Linked DNA regions of Homo sapiens: region 2 is linked to region 1. The links are contacts of gene promoters, found by promoter capture Hi-C in human tissues and cell types (Jung and others, 2019). All regions are on one chromosome and are shown on one strand. The core of a region is centred on a gene start or on the middle of the fragment in contact, and the rest is flanking DNA. Distances in the headings are between cores, read along the strand shown.

Region 1 (7,693 bases), core at 2,701-5,200:
GTCTGTGGTATTCTGTTATAGCAGCACCAATGGACTAAAATATACACATAACTGATTCATAAACAAAAAAGAAAAATATATTTATGGTGTATACTTAAACTTTGTACTGATAGACAATTATTAAAATATGAGACCCCTGGGTGAAAAGACTGAAGGATGGTTTCATGCCATAGATCAGGGGTCCCTAATCCCCTGATGGTTAGGGGTACATAACCACTGGTACCAGTCTGTGGCCTGTTAGAAATCAGGCCACAGAGCAGGAGATGAGTGGCAGGCAAATGACTTTTATCACCTGAGCCCTGCCTCCTGTCAGATCAGCTATGGCATTAGACTCTCATAGGAGCGCAATCCCTACTGTGAAGTGCGCATGCAAGGGATTAAGGTTGCACGCCCCTTATGTGAATTGAACTAATGCCTGATGATCTGAGGTGAAACAGTTTCACCCCCAAACCACCACCTCCTGCTTCTGTGGAAAAACTGTCTTCCACAAAACCGATCCCTGGTGCCAAAAAGGTTGGGCACCACTGCCTTAGATAGTCCTTAAATAAGACCTGAAAGTAAAGGGAAAAAAATAAAGGGGTACGTTTCAAAGAAAATAAGGAAATGTTCACAGATGTGGCTTAGAAATTCCTTTCAATAGTACTCATTTCACAATATTACTTTTTAGTAAAACTTTGGAAGCTTAAATATTCAATAATAGTTTATTGGCTAGTCAAATTATAATATGTACAAAAAATACATCTATTTAATACAGCATTATTACTGTCTTTGATTTGTGAAACAGACTGCTTGCCTGTGGTAATTTTTTAGCTCTGAGAGTTAATTCAGCATTGTATTACATTATTTGGATATTTTGCATGCATGTTCACCAGTGATACTCGTCTTTGGTTTTAAAGGCAGAATTTATTTTTGCCAGGTGTTGGGAAAATAATTAAAATTCAAATCTCCTGCCAATGGCAGAAAATCCTCTCCACAAATGTAGAAAAAAAGAACACAGTTTTATTACTTAATAATCACTAAATCAACTGTGATGCACTTCACAGGCAATCCACTAATGAGATTAAAAGGACAGGAAGAAATCTCTTTTTTATAGCCAAGCAGATACAATCCAATACATACATTTTCCAAATAATCAAGTAAGACCTTACAGTTCAATTTGCTACACATAATTTATCCTAAATTCACCTGTTAATTGGAGTTGCCACTGTGTTAGTTAATTCCCTTTATCCCAAATCAAAAAAACATTTCTCATAGCTTTATGATGAACAGGTTATTACAAGTTAGAGCCAGGGATGCTTCCTTCTTCCCCTTCAGTTGTCTGGGCAGCCTGGGGTGTTCACTCATCTCTGTCCCCAAAAGAACATAGCCTATCTGTCCTGGCATTTATTTTAATTTCTTATGCTTTCTTACTTTTCTACCAGTGCTGCAATCCTCAATACAGTAGCCACTAGGCAATTTGGCTACATACATTTAAATTAATTAAAATGTAAAAATAAAATAAGTAAAGTTTAAAATTCAGTTTCTCAGTTGCTTAAGCCACAGTTCAAGTACTCAATAGTCATACAGGGCTGGTGGCTACTGTACTGACCAGTACACATGCAGAGCACTTCCACCACTGCAGAAAGTTCTCTTAGACAATACTGCACTAGATCATGAAGTCCTGTGTGTCAGTGTACACCAAAATCCATGTACAACTTTTCCTAACAGATACTTCCTAAGTGTTTAGAAGATGAACCAATGAATGATTTTGGCATTAGTTCACTTTAGCTGTTACTTTTTTCTTGCTCTGCCGCCAGGCTGGAGTGCAGTGACATAATCATAGCTCACTGCAGCCGCACACCACAGGGTTCAAGAAATTTTCTCAACTCATCACCCTCCCGAATAGCTGGAAAAACAGGCATGTACCACCACACCAGTTTTTCAATTCTAATTATCTAACTTCTCCAAGAAAACAGACTTCACCCAACATGTACATCTGCTACTCACATCCCCTCCTATGCAAGCTTCACCTTCCATGCCATGATTCTGCCCCACCAGTTCGTCATTACTCATCTTATTCACTCCACAATTACTTACTAAGCATCTATTTGGTGCCAGGTAACCCTCTGGGTACTGAAGCTATAACAGACAACAAAAAAGAAAAAAGATTCCTCCCACCAGGAACAGACAATGAGCATGTGCATATACTGAACATACAGTACATCAGCTAGTGAGTGACACACACTGTGGAAAACAACAAAGCAGTGATGGAGGAGTGGAAGTGCTAGGCGAGGGAAGGTGACTGCGATTGCAAATAGCCATTCAGGGAAGCTTTTCTGAGAAAGTAACCACGGAACAAACACACGAAGAAGATAAGGATGCAAGTTTGTGCGTATGTGGGGGAAGAATATTCCACGTCGATGGCACAGCAACTAGTGACAGTGGCTAGAGCTCACAGGAATGAGGAGGCAGAGAAGGAAGGTGGGATCAGAAAGGTAATGGCCTAATTGTACAAATAGGTCATTGCAGAAGTGACTCAGTTAGAGCCACTGAAAAATTATAGGTTGAGGAATGACAGGAATTTATGTAACAATAGGACCACGGTCACAGCTGTACTGAGAACAGACTGATGAGGGTTAAGGGCAGATGCAGGGAATCCAGCTAGGAGGCTACCGCAATAATCCAGGTGGCTTTATTGCTATCACTACCGGGGTGGTAGTGGTGGTGGTAGTGCTGGGGTAACTAATGGTCAGATTCTGTATACAGTGTATAGCTTAGCTCCAACTAGAGGATCTGAATATAGGTATAAGTCAAAGGGAAGAATCAAGGATGACTGCAAGCATCTCTTCACTTGAGACCACATGGTACAGTTTTGACAACCATAAACCGAATAACCTTACATTCCAAAGTTGCATTGTGAATTACAGTTTTAAAATGTTGGCAAGACTAGAAAGTCTTCTAGCAGAAAACTGTAGAAAAGAGGAACACTGGGTGAGGAGGATAATACCTTGGAGCTCTCCTGTGGGCTCCGTCCTTCCTATACTGAAAGGAACCATGGATCCAGTCCCTTAAATGGACTTGGTTAGGTGGGAACAGGCAGGAGAAGCAAAGCAAACACACAGTCCTGATAAAGTGTTTCAGGAAGATTTGCGGACACACCGACCTACCTGAGGCATTACTCTGCAATTTCCAACAGCCAACAGAGTCCTCTTTCCAGGCTCTTATCTTAGAGATGGGCAGTGTCCTGAGGGCACAGAAGGGCAGGAAAAAGCAGTCATGAAAAATCAGGCTTATCTTGCGGCACCTGTGACACACCATAATGGAAAGGCACACTGGTAATCACTCTCCAGGGCGCCAATCTCTCCCTGGGAACTAACAGGGTGTTTCTCCGCAAGGGCTAACCATTTACCAGGTGCCACCTGCGAGGAAAATCAATTACTCTGTAAATAAAATCCTCATAAAACAATGGTAAAAACTTTATCAGCTCGTTCAGTCTTCACCACTATGCACGGTGTGCGTTCACATTTTTCCAGATCTATTTTTTAAACGATGACAAAACTGAAATTCCAAGATACTGAACCCATTTGTTCAAGGTTACACAACTGTAGAGCGCCGGCTTCATGACGACATAACCCAAAGACAACTGTGGCTGGCGTCTAACCACGCGCCCACTTCACTCTCACAACAGCGCCAAGAGGTCGGCGCCGTCATCACCCCGCGTTTACATAGGAGGACATGAAGGCCAGGAAAACCAAGGCACCGGCCGGGGTCACACCGCGGGGCAGACCCAGGGCCTGAGCCCCGCCGCCGCCCCCGGGACTCATACTGGCCGGAGTCCTCAGCAGGGCCTCACCGTCCCCGCAGGCGCCCCGCGTCGCTGGTGAGCGGGCAACGGCCGCCGACCTCTGGGGACGACACTGCCCAGAATCGTCCCGGAGCCTGGGAGTCGCCGTCAGGCCTGAGGCTACAGCGGGGCGGACCCAGTGCGCCGCCCACAGCCGATCGACATTTCCCAGAATCATCCGCGCAGGGGACAAAATTCCAGGCGCAACGAACCGCAGGTACCGGAAGACCACACTTCCCAGGAGTCTCTGCGGCCGCGCGGACCTGGGGCGCCGCGGGCAAACAGATCTCGGTTTCCTAAAAAACTAAACCGCCTGGGGCTGTCGTCCCAGAGCCCGGCAGTTAGGACCATGCGGGAAGTGTCCTGGGGCATATAGTCATACTGATGAGGTGAAAGATACACCTCGGAACCAAGGGCCACCCTCTACTTTTAAGGACAATGGCGCCGGGACCAAGAAACTACACTTCCCAGAAAACCGTGCGGCCGTGGCAAACTCTTCTGGGTCTAGCGTGCGCTCACACTAATGTTTATCTCCCGGGACGTGGGCAGACCTTGTACCAGGCGAGCTCTCGCCTTTGCTAGCAAAAGAGCTCCTCTCTTCCCAAACCCTGCTACTACGCTGTCCACCCTGTATGGTCTTTGAGGTCTTTGAGGTTTTTTTGGAATTCACTTGCTGGAGACTACAGCTCACAGAACGCCCTGGGCTGGATTGTGCCAGCTGTAGTTCGCGAACCAAGGACATTTCCTGGAAATGCATGCGGCCACGTATCTGTGACAGAAATGGCAGTTCTCACGTGCGTTACGCCCCCTGGAAGGACTTGGAAATACGGAACTTGAGTGAGCACTGAGAGGACACAGACCCTCATCCTGGGAGGAGTCACTCCTCCCGCAGCCATCAGAGCCTGACAACCGCTTCTCACCAGAGGCGCTTCTTAGACCCTGACCTTGCCCGGCTCACCCAAAGGGGCAATGGCCTTCTTTGTATGCAAGCCAGACAGTCTACTGTTGTATATTTGAATTTTTTACTTTATTTTTAATATTTTAATTAAATTTTAATTTAATGCTGCCTCTACCTCTGAGAGAGACAGGGAGAGATGGGGGAGGCCTGGAGTGGGGGCCCTGCGGGGCAGGGACAGGGGACCCTTCCTCACTTTGCACAATCTGGGAACCCTCCCCAAGCGGAACAGCCAGCTGCAGTGGAAAAGCACTGGCTTAGTGGGCTTCGTCCTGGGGACGAAGGCTGGGAGACTGCAGCTGAAAGGTGTGGGCTCCAGGAGGGCCGCAGGGGGCCTAGCAGCAGCGTCAGGGAGCAGAAGTCCGCCCTCCCTCCATCTTCCTTCCTTCTCTGGCCGCCAGAGCGCTCTGTCTCCCTCCCACGCCCACAGCTACAGGTGGAGCCGGCTTGGGGCGGGGGGGGGGTCCTCCTAGGGCGAAGAGGGCCAGGAGCCTTCCTGAGGACCTGAGGCTCCTCTGGGCCTCCCAGGGCTGGGCCTGTGATCTGATCTGCTTTGCCCTGGGAGGGACGTGCTCAGTGGTGGGGTTTGTGTAGCTGTCACTCATTCACCTGCCTGTGCTCAGCCACTCACCTGCTACTCCCATTGGCACCCACCCAGTACACATGTGGGTCGTCAGCTGCCATCAGGAGTAGTTCCTGCCTGTGTCACACACACCCATCCCACCCACCACACTGCAGGTTACAGGATTGCCCCACAAGCGCCACCATGCCTGCCTGAGGTTACCTGGCACACAAGTATCCTCACCTGCATGACATGACCAGATCGTGCACTTTCTATGCCAGGACCAGGGCCAGGGCAAGCTTGCACCTTCAGCCTTGGGGACACTGGGGGTGGTGGTGGCTGGAGGCCAGGGAAGTCACCAGGCTGGAGACATCATCTACCTCCAGGAGAGGGTTGATATCAGACATCTCCCATGCACCACTTTGAGCTATCTCAGCGTCACCTGGGACTCTGGCTGGCACTGTGACCAGCAGTTCCATGAAGGTTTAGACCACCTCTAGGCTTAGGAAGGGCCTCCCTTGCCATCAGCGTGGTCCAGGCTGCACGCCTGGTGACCAAGGGCTCTGGGCAGCAGATGCAGCCAGCCAGAGTGTTGGGGTGAGGGGCCTGGGCACAGGAGGGACGTGAGGCCTTCCCTGCACCCCCATGACCACCATTTCAGAGGGAGGACAGCAATTGTTTGGGTTTGTCCTGTGAGCGGTGGCAGAGGGCAGGGCCCAGGGCAGGTCCAGGGCCAGACAGGCATCCCATGCTACAGCCTCGGGGCCACGAGGGCACATGATGGGGTCGGTGTGAGGGCATCCCCTGTGCCAAATACCTGGGCAGGAGGTGCCCTGGGGTTGGTGGGTGGGTCAGGGCATTTGCAGGATTTCTGGTTTCTGTTGGAGTTGTATGTCCTGGAGAATGGAGGGAAGAGAGAAAGGGTGAAGAGAAGGGGGAAACGACCCCTGCTGCTTCCTGGCCTCTAAGTAGGGGGTGATGGGTGGTTGGTGAGTGGCAGAGGGGTCAGCGGGAGCTTCAAGGCTGAGCCAGGGAAGCGGAGGCAGCAGGGATGCAGACCTTGCCTGAGGCTGGCTCGGGGCTGGGGCTTCTTAGAGGTCAGGGCCCTAGAGCTCCCGGACAGGGAGTCTGCAGGAACAGTGACACAGCACATGACACAGCACAACTCAACACAACACAACCTGGCACAGCAGAGCAGCGTGCTGTGCACTGGGCTGCAGGAGAACACGGAGTGGGGTCTGTAGGGTCCCAGGAGTCATGGAGCAAACTGACCTGAGCCGTGTCCCTCAGTCAAGGCACAGGCACCTGGCCTTCAGCCAGCTTCCTTGTGACAGCCCCATGCCCTGGTGTCCCTGGGGCTGAGACAGGGCTGGGGCTGCTGTCCAAGGTGAGGTCTGACTAATCCCCTGCCTCTAACCCCCAGTTGTTTTGGGAACTTGAGTATCTTCTAAGAGACCCAGTGGTGCTGATGGGATTTCTGGTCACCTCAACCAGGGCCCCTGCCCACCTGGCCACACTGGCTCCTACTCAAATCTGACCTTAGGGCTTGCGTGGCCTCTGCTTACTGAGCCCTGTGGTTCTCTGCCAGGCACCATTGGCCCTGCGGCCAGGCTGACACCTGGAGAATGGCCTGTCCCCAAAGCCTGCACTCCTCCCAGCTCACCCGCTTTGCTTTTCTCCCACACTGGGAGGTGGGAGCCAGGTTGACACTGGAGGAGGAGCTCCCTCAACTCTGGCTTCACTTTAGAGTTCTGGGCAGAGTTTTGGGAGATGAGATTTCCTGGAGAGGGGCTGGAGCTCGAGAGCCTGCTGAGCGGGGAGTGGTCCCATAGCAGAGAGACCCATGGTGGAGGGGCGGGGTGGGTGGGGAGGACAGCCTGGCTGTGGAGGAGCTGGGGCAGGCAGGTTACACGGGTGCAGCTCACACTCCCTCCTTTTCCCCGCTGTCCTCTCCTGTCTCTTCCTCCTTGCCCTATTCTTTCCTTCTTTTCTGGATACGCTTCATCCGGATTCAAAAGGATAGCTTTTGATATTTCACCATTAAATAGGAAGTTTAATTTAGGAATTTTTGGTAGATGCTTTGTTAGATTAAGGATATATTATTCTATTTCTATTTTATTTTTTTAATTTCTTTTTTTTTTTTTTTTGAGACAGAGTCTCTCTCTGTCTCCTAGGCTGGAGTGCAGTGGCACGATCTCAGCTCACTCCAACCTGTGCCTCCTGGGTTCAAGTGAGTCTCCTTTCTCAGCCTGTGGAGTAGCTGGGACTACCATCACACACCACCACGCCTGGCTAATTTTTGTATTTTCAGTAGAGGCGGGATTTCACCATGTTGGCCAGGCTGATCTCCAAC
Region 2 (7,693 bases), core at 3,629-6,128, 110 kb after region 1:
GTCCGTTCTCAGATCTCAAGCTGTGTGCTGGGAGAACCACTACTCTCTTCAAAGCTGTCAGACAGGGACATTTAAGTCTGCAGAGGTTTCTGCTGCCTTTTGTTTGGATATGCCCTGCCCCTAGAGGTGGAGTCTACATAGGCAAGCAGGCCTCCTTGAGCTGTGTTGGGCTCCACCCAGTTCGAGCTTCCTGGCTGCTTTGTTTACCTACTCAAGCCTTGGCAATGGCAGGCGCCCCTCCCCCAGCCTCATTGCTGCCTTGCAGTTTGATCTCAGACTGCTGTGCTAGCAATGAGCGAGGCTCCGTGGTTGTAGGACCCTCCGAGCCATGCATGGGATATAATCTCCTGGTGTGCAGTTTGCTAAGACCATTGGAAAAGTGCAGTATTAGGGTGGGAGTGACCCGATTTTCCATGTGCCGTCTGTCACCCCTTTCTTTGACTAGGAAAGGGAATTCCCTGACCCCTTGTGCTTCCCGGATGAGATGATGCCTCGCCCTGCTTCGTCTCACACTCGGTGCGCTGCACCCACTGTCCTGCACCCACTATCCAACACTCCACAGTGAGATGAACCCGGTACCTCAGTTGGAAATGCAGAAATCAGCCGTCTTCTGCATCACTCACGCTGGGAGCTGTAGACTGTAACTGTTCTTATTCGGCCATCTTGGCTCCACCTCACTTCTTTTATAATATTAAGGGTTTTGCTGCAAACTGCAGAAATGTTACTCAGTAGAATAAGCAGATAATACTCTGAGTAATACCTCAGATAACAAGAATGCAACACTGGTGCATTGGCCAGGAAAGGAAACATCAGAAAGATGAGTAGGAGAGGACCTCCAACACTGTACTTTCATTTCCAAGGCTCCTTATCCTCTGTTTTTTTCTTGTAAGATCAAACAAAACACTGGGCCCCTGTCAGCCTATTAAAAGCTTCTAGAGTGGCTGCCAGCCTTACAAGATTCAGGGGACAGGCTTGATGGAGAGGACTTTATCAATCCCCCATCACTCTTGGGTGTTGGGAATGTTGGCTCTGTTCCAACCTAGCTCCCTTTCACAGAAGATCTAGCCATCATGTGGGGCTGGAAGAAGGTCCTGGGGCAACTGAAGGCATCTGGCGGAGGCTGCACCTTGGTGTTACCTGAAGACTCCTGGACTAACTCCAGTCCCCAACAGCCCACCAGGACTTCCAGACTTTCCTATCACATTTTCTTCCTTTCTTTTCTTTTTTGCAGCTCTCATGTCTCCTATCCCTTCTTTGTATGCTATGTTGAGGGAGTTTTTACAGCCTGGGGAGATAACCTTGTTGGGTAAAGTTAGCAAGTGCCTTAGTAACCAGGAATGTAACTCTAAGAATTGCTGCTTCTGTGATTTCCTTGAGATGGGGGGATTTCAAGATTTCAACTAAACTTTCAACTAAACTAAACTAAACTGAACTAAACTTTCACCTAGTAAGGGCTTTTTTGTTCCCCAATGATAGTCATTCATGGCACTCTATAGGAGGATATTTCAACCTGAGTGAATACCCTCCTCTCCATTTGGGTTGTTTTATTCCTCCACATAAAAGCTCAGCACTGCCAGTGAATTTAAACAGTTCCTCCATGAGACAAATTGTATTTTTGCTGGGAGGCATATTGTGGGGACAGCCCACCAAGCCCCACACCTCTCTGCCTAGAAAGAATTTGGAGTCACAGTTTTTACCTAACATTTCAGTTATTGCCACAACACCTAGCAAAATAGGATTTTTCTGTGTTGGGGGGCCATATTGACCCTTTTCCCAAAACCTCTAGTTCCCCAACTCTTTTTCCTCCTGCATCCCTCTATAAGTGATCAGACCTCATGCCCTATTTGTAGGCAGGAAAACTCCACTTTCAATAGTCAGGAGGAAGCTGCCCTTGAGAGACAAATTCTAGGCTCAGTACTGTCCTCATCGAAGGTAGGACAGCCATTTAATCCTTATATTTTTTGAGGCACCTGTCCTAAACACAACTACATTGGCATTTAAACAAAAGAGGATTTTATGCTTAGAAGTCAATTGGTCCCATTCTCTGGGAAATCAGGGCTTTGCTAGGGCCACAGTAAGAGAAGCCAGGGACAGAGTCAAGACACTCCTTCCATTAAATGGTCTTACTCAAATCCAACTACTGCACAATCCCTCCTGGGCCCCTGGGGTACCATGGGAGCCTTTTAGGTCGAGTAGGTCTGGGATACCCAGAGATAGGTAGAGAGCTAGGGAATCTCACAGGTAAACATGACTACTCCTGCTGACTAGCTCCTCTGGATCCATGGGTGGTAATGCTTGCATCCATGGGCAGCACAATTGATGGCCACCAGGACCCAGAGGAGATGGGAGGAAAGAGGAGAAGGAGGACGCCCTTTCTACCTTTCTCTGTACCCTGGGTCACTCCAAAAGGAGGAAGTGGACTAAGGTATGCCTTTTCTCCCCTCTCTTTCCAGATACTTAACAACCCATCTTCAAGCCTGCACTTTCCTCGAGTGCAGCCTGGATCTCTTTTAATCGTCAGACCCTGAAGTTTGCTTTAGGAAAGTCCCAACTTCACTCACATATAGAGTATTTAAACTCTGCTGGAAGGATGTTAGGTTACTCTTAAATCAAACCCTAACTGCTGCTGAGAAACAGTTGGCCCTGTAGGCAGCAAAGAAATTTGGAGATGAACTTTGTGTCTCATACAGTGCCAGGGAAGGGGAAGAGCCTTATCCAATTGGGAGAGTAATAGTGCCCTTAAAGGACCCTAAATGTGACCATAATAATAGCATTGGTGAGTGGAGAAGAAAACTCTTTCAAATGCGTATATTGGAGAAGCCACAAAGGACTATAGCCAAACCTATTAACTACTACAAGCTTTCCATAATAGATAATAAAAAAAAAAAAAAACCTAGATGAAAACCCCTCAGCCTTTTTGGAAAGGCTGAGAGAAGCTTTAGTGAAACACACCTTTCTATCTCTCATTTCAATTGAAGGACAGCTAATCTTAAAGGACAAGTTTATTACTCAGGCAGCCCCTAATATCTGAAGGAAGTTGCAAAAACAGGCCGTGTCCAAAGATCTCTCTGATTTTTCTCACCCTCAGGTTGAAGCTTTGCAGTATGTAGATGACATTCTCCTCTGTGCCCCAACTGAGAAAGTCTCAGGAAGACACTGAGGCTCTCCTCAATTTTTTAGCTGAAAGGGGATATAGGGTTTCAAAATTTAAGGCTCAGCTCTTTCAAACTTCAGTAAAGTACCTATATCTAGTCCTGTCAGAAGGAACAAGAGCACTAGGTAAGGAAATGATTAAGCCCATTTCCTCTTTGCCCTTCCCAAAATGCTTAAACATCTGAAGGGATTCTTAGGCATTATTGAATTTTGCAAACTAGGAATACCCAGGTACAGTGAGATAACTCGCCCTTTATACCACCTCATAAAAGAAATGCAAGCAGCTAAAACTCAGTCCCTGACTTGGGAACCTGGGGCTCAAAAAGGCTTTAACCAGTTAAAACAAGCCTTGCTTAAAGCACCAGCCCTTAGTCTTCCCATAGGAAAGACATTCAGTCTCTATGTAGCAAAAAGGAAGAGAATGGCCCTGGGAGTTTTAACTCAGGCTCAAGGTCCAGCTCAACAGCCAGTAGGTTACCTAAGCAAGGAGCTTGAGTTGATGGCTAAAGTACGGCCAGCTTGCCTCTGAGCAGTTACAGCAGTGGCTTTACTGGTGTCAGTGGCCACCAAGTTAACCATGAGGAATGACTTAACTGTATATAACCCACATAATGCGGCAGAACTGCTGTCTTCTAAGAGAAGTCCCTGGCCAACAGATAATCACCTCCTCAAAGATCAGGCTCTGCTGTTAGAGGAATCTACAGTCCAGTTAAAAAAACCTGTCCTTGCCTGAACCCAGACACTTTCCTCCCAGAGGAAACTGAAGAACCTGAATATGGCTTTGAACAGTCATGCAAACCTATGCAGCCAAGGAGGACCTCAAAGAAACTCCCCTAGAAAACCCAGAAGCCAGACATGCTGGTAAAAGGATAAAAGTTTTTTTACAGTCAGACTTTTGGCCTCTCTGTCCCTGTGCAAACCAGTGAAAGGAATGATAAGAATCATTGTTTATATTCCCTGTAAAGTTTTAATTAATGAAAAAGGATATTCTTAAAGAATGCTCAGCTTAATTAAAAGAGGATATCCAAGTTATAGATATATTTAAAAGATTTTTATGTTTTTCTCTCCTTGGATCTTGTTTTTCTGAAAAGGTTTTTTTTTTTCTCAGTTGACTAAATTACTTTTCTCCACTTTGTCTTGCCAGTCAGTGCATGTATGAAAGGCCCTAGATAGCTTCTGATGGCCTGGGACTCCTTGGGGAAAAAAAAAAAATGCCAAGGATTCCATTTTGTGAGACATCTCTCTTTTCCTCATGAAACCCCAAGAATTAGAGGTGAATATAACCCACTCAAAATCTCTTTTTGCCTTTCAGGTATGCCTGTTTATTAGGCCCTAGAAACTGTATGCTTTCCTAGCCCTGTTCTTAAAGAGCTCCACCCTGAGGCCAATAATCCAATTAGAAAATTGACGAACAAAAAAACCTTACAACTGCTGGGTTTTCTTCTGTCTGTGTAGTCATATATATGTTATGTGTGTAATGGTTATACAAAAAAAGTTATAATTAACTGGCTTTAAAAATAAGCACTTAGATAAAATATTTTTTGAAGGAAAAATAAAAGCTGTAATGCCTTTTACTTCATGCGACTTTAATCTTTCAGGAATAGGAACACTATTTAAGGATTATAAATAAGGAATAGGAACATTCTCTTTTTTTTGCATATAGCTTGAATTTATTTTGAAAGTTTTCCCAGTATACATTCTCATAAACATAATTACTGATTTCAAGTATTGGAACATTCTCTTTTTTTGCATATAGATTGAATTTATTTTGAAAGTTTTCCCAGTATACATTCTCATAATTACTGATTTCAAGTATTTTTGTAACTTTTGACATTATTGCCAAATGGTGTGATGTTAATACTATAAGATTTGCCCCATCTCCATCGCTGCTGGAACATCTCATGGCCCCAATTTCACTGCCAACTCATTGGAACTATGAATTATAATTTAAATGCTTTTTCCTAGGCAGAAAATTCATCTGACTTTTTAAAATATATACTTTAAGTTCTAGGGTACATGTGCACAACGTGCAGGTTTGTTACATATGTATACATGTTCCATGTTGGTGTGCTGCACCCATTAACTTGTCATTTACATTAGGTATATCTCCTAATGCAATCCCTCCCCCCTCCCCCCACCCTGGTGTGTGATGTACCCCACCCTATGTCCAAGTGTTCTCATTGTTCAATTCCCACCTATGAGTGAGAACATGCAGTGTTTGGTTTTCTGTCCTTGCAATAGTTTGCTCAGAATGATGGTTTCCAGCTTCATCCATGTCCCTACAAAGGACATGAACTCATCCTTTTTTATGGCTGCATAATATTCCATGGTGTATATGTGCCACATTTTCTTAATCTAGTCTATCATTGATGGACATTTGGGTTGGTTCCAAGTCTTTGCTATTGTGAATAGTGCCACAATAAACATATGTGTACATGTGTCTTTATAGTAAAGTGATTTATAATTCTTTGGGTATATACCTGGGTCATTTCCAATTAAGAAAAGATTATTATATTGAGAACACGTTCCAAAATTGTAGAATGGTGCTCATCTATAAAATGCTAGTATCTGATAGGCAATTTAGGATTTCTTGCTTCCTGGGTTTACATAAAATGTGCCAAGGAAAATGTGTTCTATTTTTTTTTAAAAAAGAATAATTTTATCTAATTCAAAAGTTATCTAAAAGTTAATTCCAGTTGTGCACTTGAAAAGGTTATTCATCCAAGTAACTTTCTGTATTGCCTTTAAAGCCCTGTGCAGTTGAGTTACAAAGCTTTGATTCTTGGGTCTAAAAAAGGGACATTATTATGTTAATTCTCACCTTAATTCTCTTGAATAGTTAAAATCCTTTGCAACTTCAAAAATAACTGCTCAAGATTCCTTTCAGGAAAAGCAATTTCAGTCACCTTGTGCTCAGTAGTTAAGGTTTTTGTCTTTTCATGCTGGTGGCCTGGGTTCAATTCCTGGCTTAGGGAATCAGTCTTTTCTGATTTTATGTGTGTTTGACTTTTTGCCATTTATTGCTTCCTTTCCTCTTTGTGGACAGCTTCTGATTTCGTGTCTTGAAATTTTCTTTTTCCTGAACTACCTTTGGGGAGATTCTACATCTCATAAAAATTGCTTGCCGTCTCTTTGCCCATCGCTTGCCATCTCTTTGGAGACACTTCATGCATCCAAGGTTACCATCCTCTTAGTTAAGACTTACTGATTTCATGTAGAAGGTTGCCTTTAGTAAAAAAAATTCAAAAGCCAGAAATATTGGCCCTTTGTCTTGGCTAAAAGCTGGTAATAAAAGATTTTTAAAGAATCTTAAGATCTCTATACTTAAAAGTTGACTTAATTAAAGCTGATATTTGGCCTATATATGCGTGAATATTGTTTTAAAGCCCCCACTCTCCCTCTAAAGATTTCTTTATTGATGAAATTCTGTCTTGGATCTCCGTTTTTGTCTGTGTATTATGTGTGTTACGTGTGTGGTGTAAAAGAGCTGTAATTAATTGTCCTAAATATAAGCACTTAAACATATTGTCAGAAAAAAATAGAAACTTTAATGGATTTAGGTCATGGGACTCTAATTTCTTTAAAAAAGACAATGTAAAAGATTATTGGTAAAATAAAATAAATATATTCAAAATTTAGACATTTGGTCTAAAGTAGGCAGGCTGAACCTGTTTGCCATGTGTTTTAAGGCCATAAACTGCTTCTATGACTTTAAATAATTGTTTGACTTGTCTGTTTTATAGCCATTAGATTTTAGGTAAGGCTTAGGCCAGGTCCCCTGGCTAAGTTTGGGAGAGTTGGACACTATCTGCAGCTCTATCCTCATCCTGAGATCTGCAATCTGATACATGGTTAAAATTGCTTGTTTACCATCTTTTCCACCAAAAATAAGAGTTGCTAAAAGTTAATATTATAACATGTGCTTGAAACTACTGAAGAAAGAGTTTCACATGCAGGGTGTGTAAGGAAGGTAAAGTGTGATTTTGGTAAAAGGTGATAAAAGGTATGGGAGTATGACTTTTGTTAAAAAGATGTAATTTTGTCTAGTTCAGCAGTTTTTAAGGATTGTCCTAACCTAAAAGAGTAATGGGGGAAAAAAACTAAAGGTTCAAGCAAGTTGTGAAGAATTTGTGAAGCATTAATCTTGTGAAGGAAAGTCTGCGGGTATGAGAAAGTTGGCTAAGATTTGAAGGGCATTATTTAATTTCTCTGTAGGTTAAACAATAAAATAAAAGCACACTGATACAGGGCCAGAATCTGGGCCCATGTATTTGAGTAACAGGTTTTTCTTATAGAATTAATCTGCTGTTCAACAGAAAATTGTAAAGGGTTGTAAAAGGTTTATAAAAAGTTTGCATTATGGTCAAACTAGTTAAGATTGGATAGATTTCTTTATAAGCTTTTATTAAGAATTGGATTTAACCATTCAAACCCAGCAATCCCATTACTGGGTATAAATCCAAAGGGCTATAAATCATTCTACCATAAAGACACATGCGGGGGAGGAGCCAAGATGGCCGAGTAGGAACAGCTCCGGTCT

What was found. Contacts are between HindIII fragments. The study calls those that stand out against the background at their distance.
Region 2: a contact is called between a fragment that was not itself captured here and the fragment with the promoter of ZNF181 in region 1, in 2 of the 25 tissues and cell types used here (mesendoderm cells and thymus).

What each region holds. Positions count from the first base shown.
Region 1 is chr19:34,730,500-34,738,192 of GRCh38, reverse strand. It overlaps ZNF181 (zinc finger protein 181), which reads right to left and starts at 3,950. Exons shown (of 4, transcript NM_001029997.4): 1 at 3,147-3,950. The coding sequence starts at 3,155. RefSeq lists silencers at 3,708-3,767, 3,868-3,917, 6,623-6,833 and enhancers at 4,198-4,587, 4,308-4,825, 5,043-5,102. The HindIII fragment of the contact is 5,149 bases long and covers 2,158-7,306 here.
Region 2 is chr19:34,618,118-34,625,810 of GRCh38, reverse strand. The region is part of intron 1 of SCGB2B2 (secretoglobin family 2B member 2); the gene reads left to right. It also overlaps the pseudogene ZNF807P and the pseudogene SCGB1B2P. Among named protein-coding and RNA genes, the nearest start is that of SCGB2B2, 55 kb to the left of the region's middle. The HindIII fragment of the contact is 3,723 bases long and covers 3,017-6,739 here.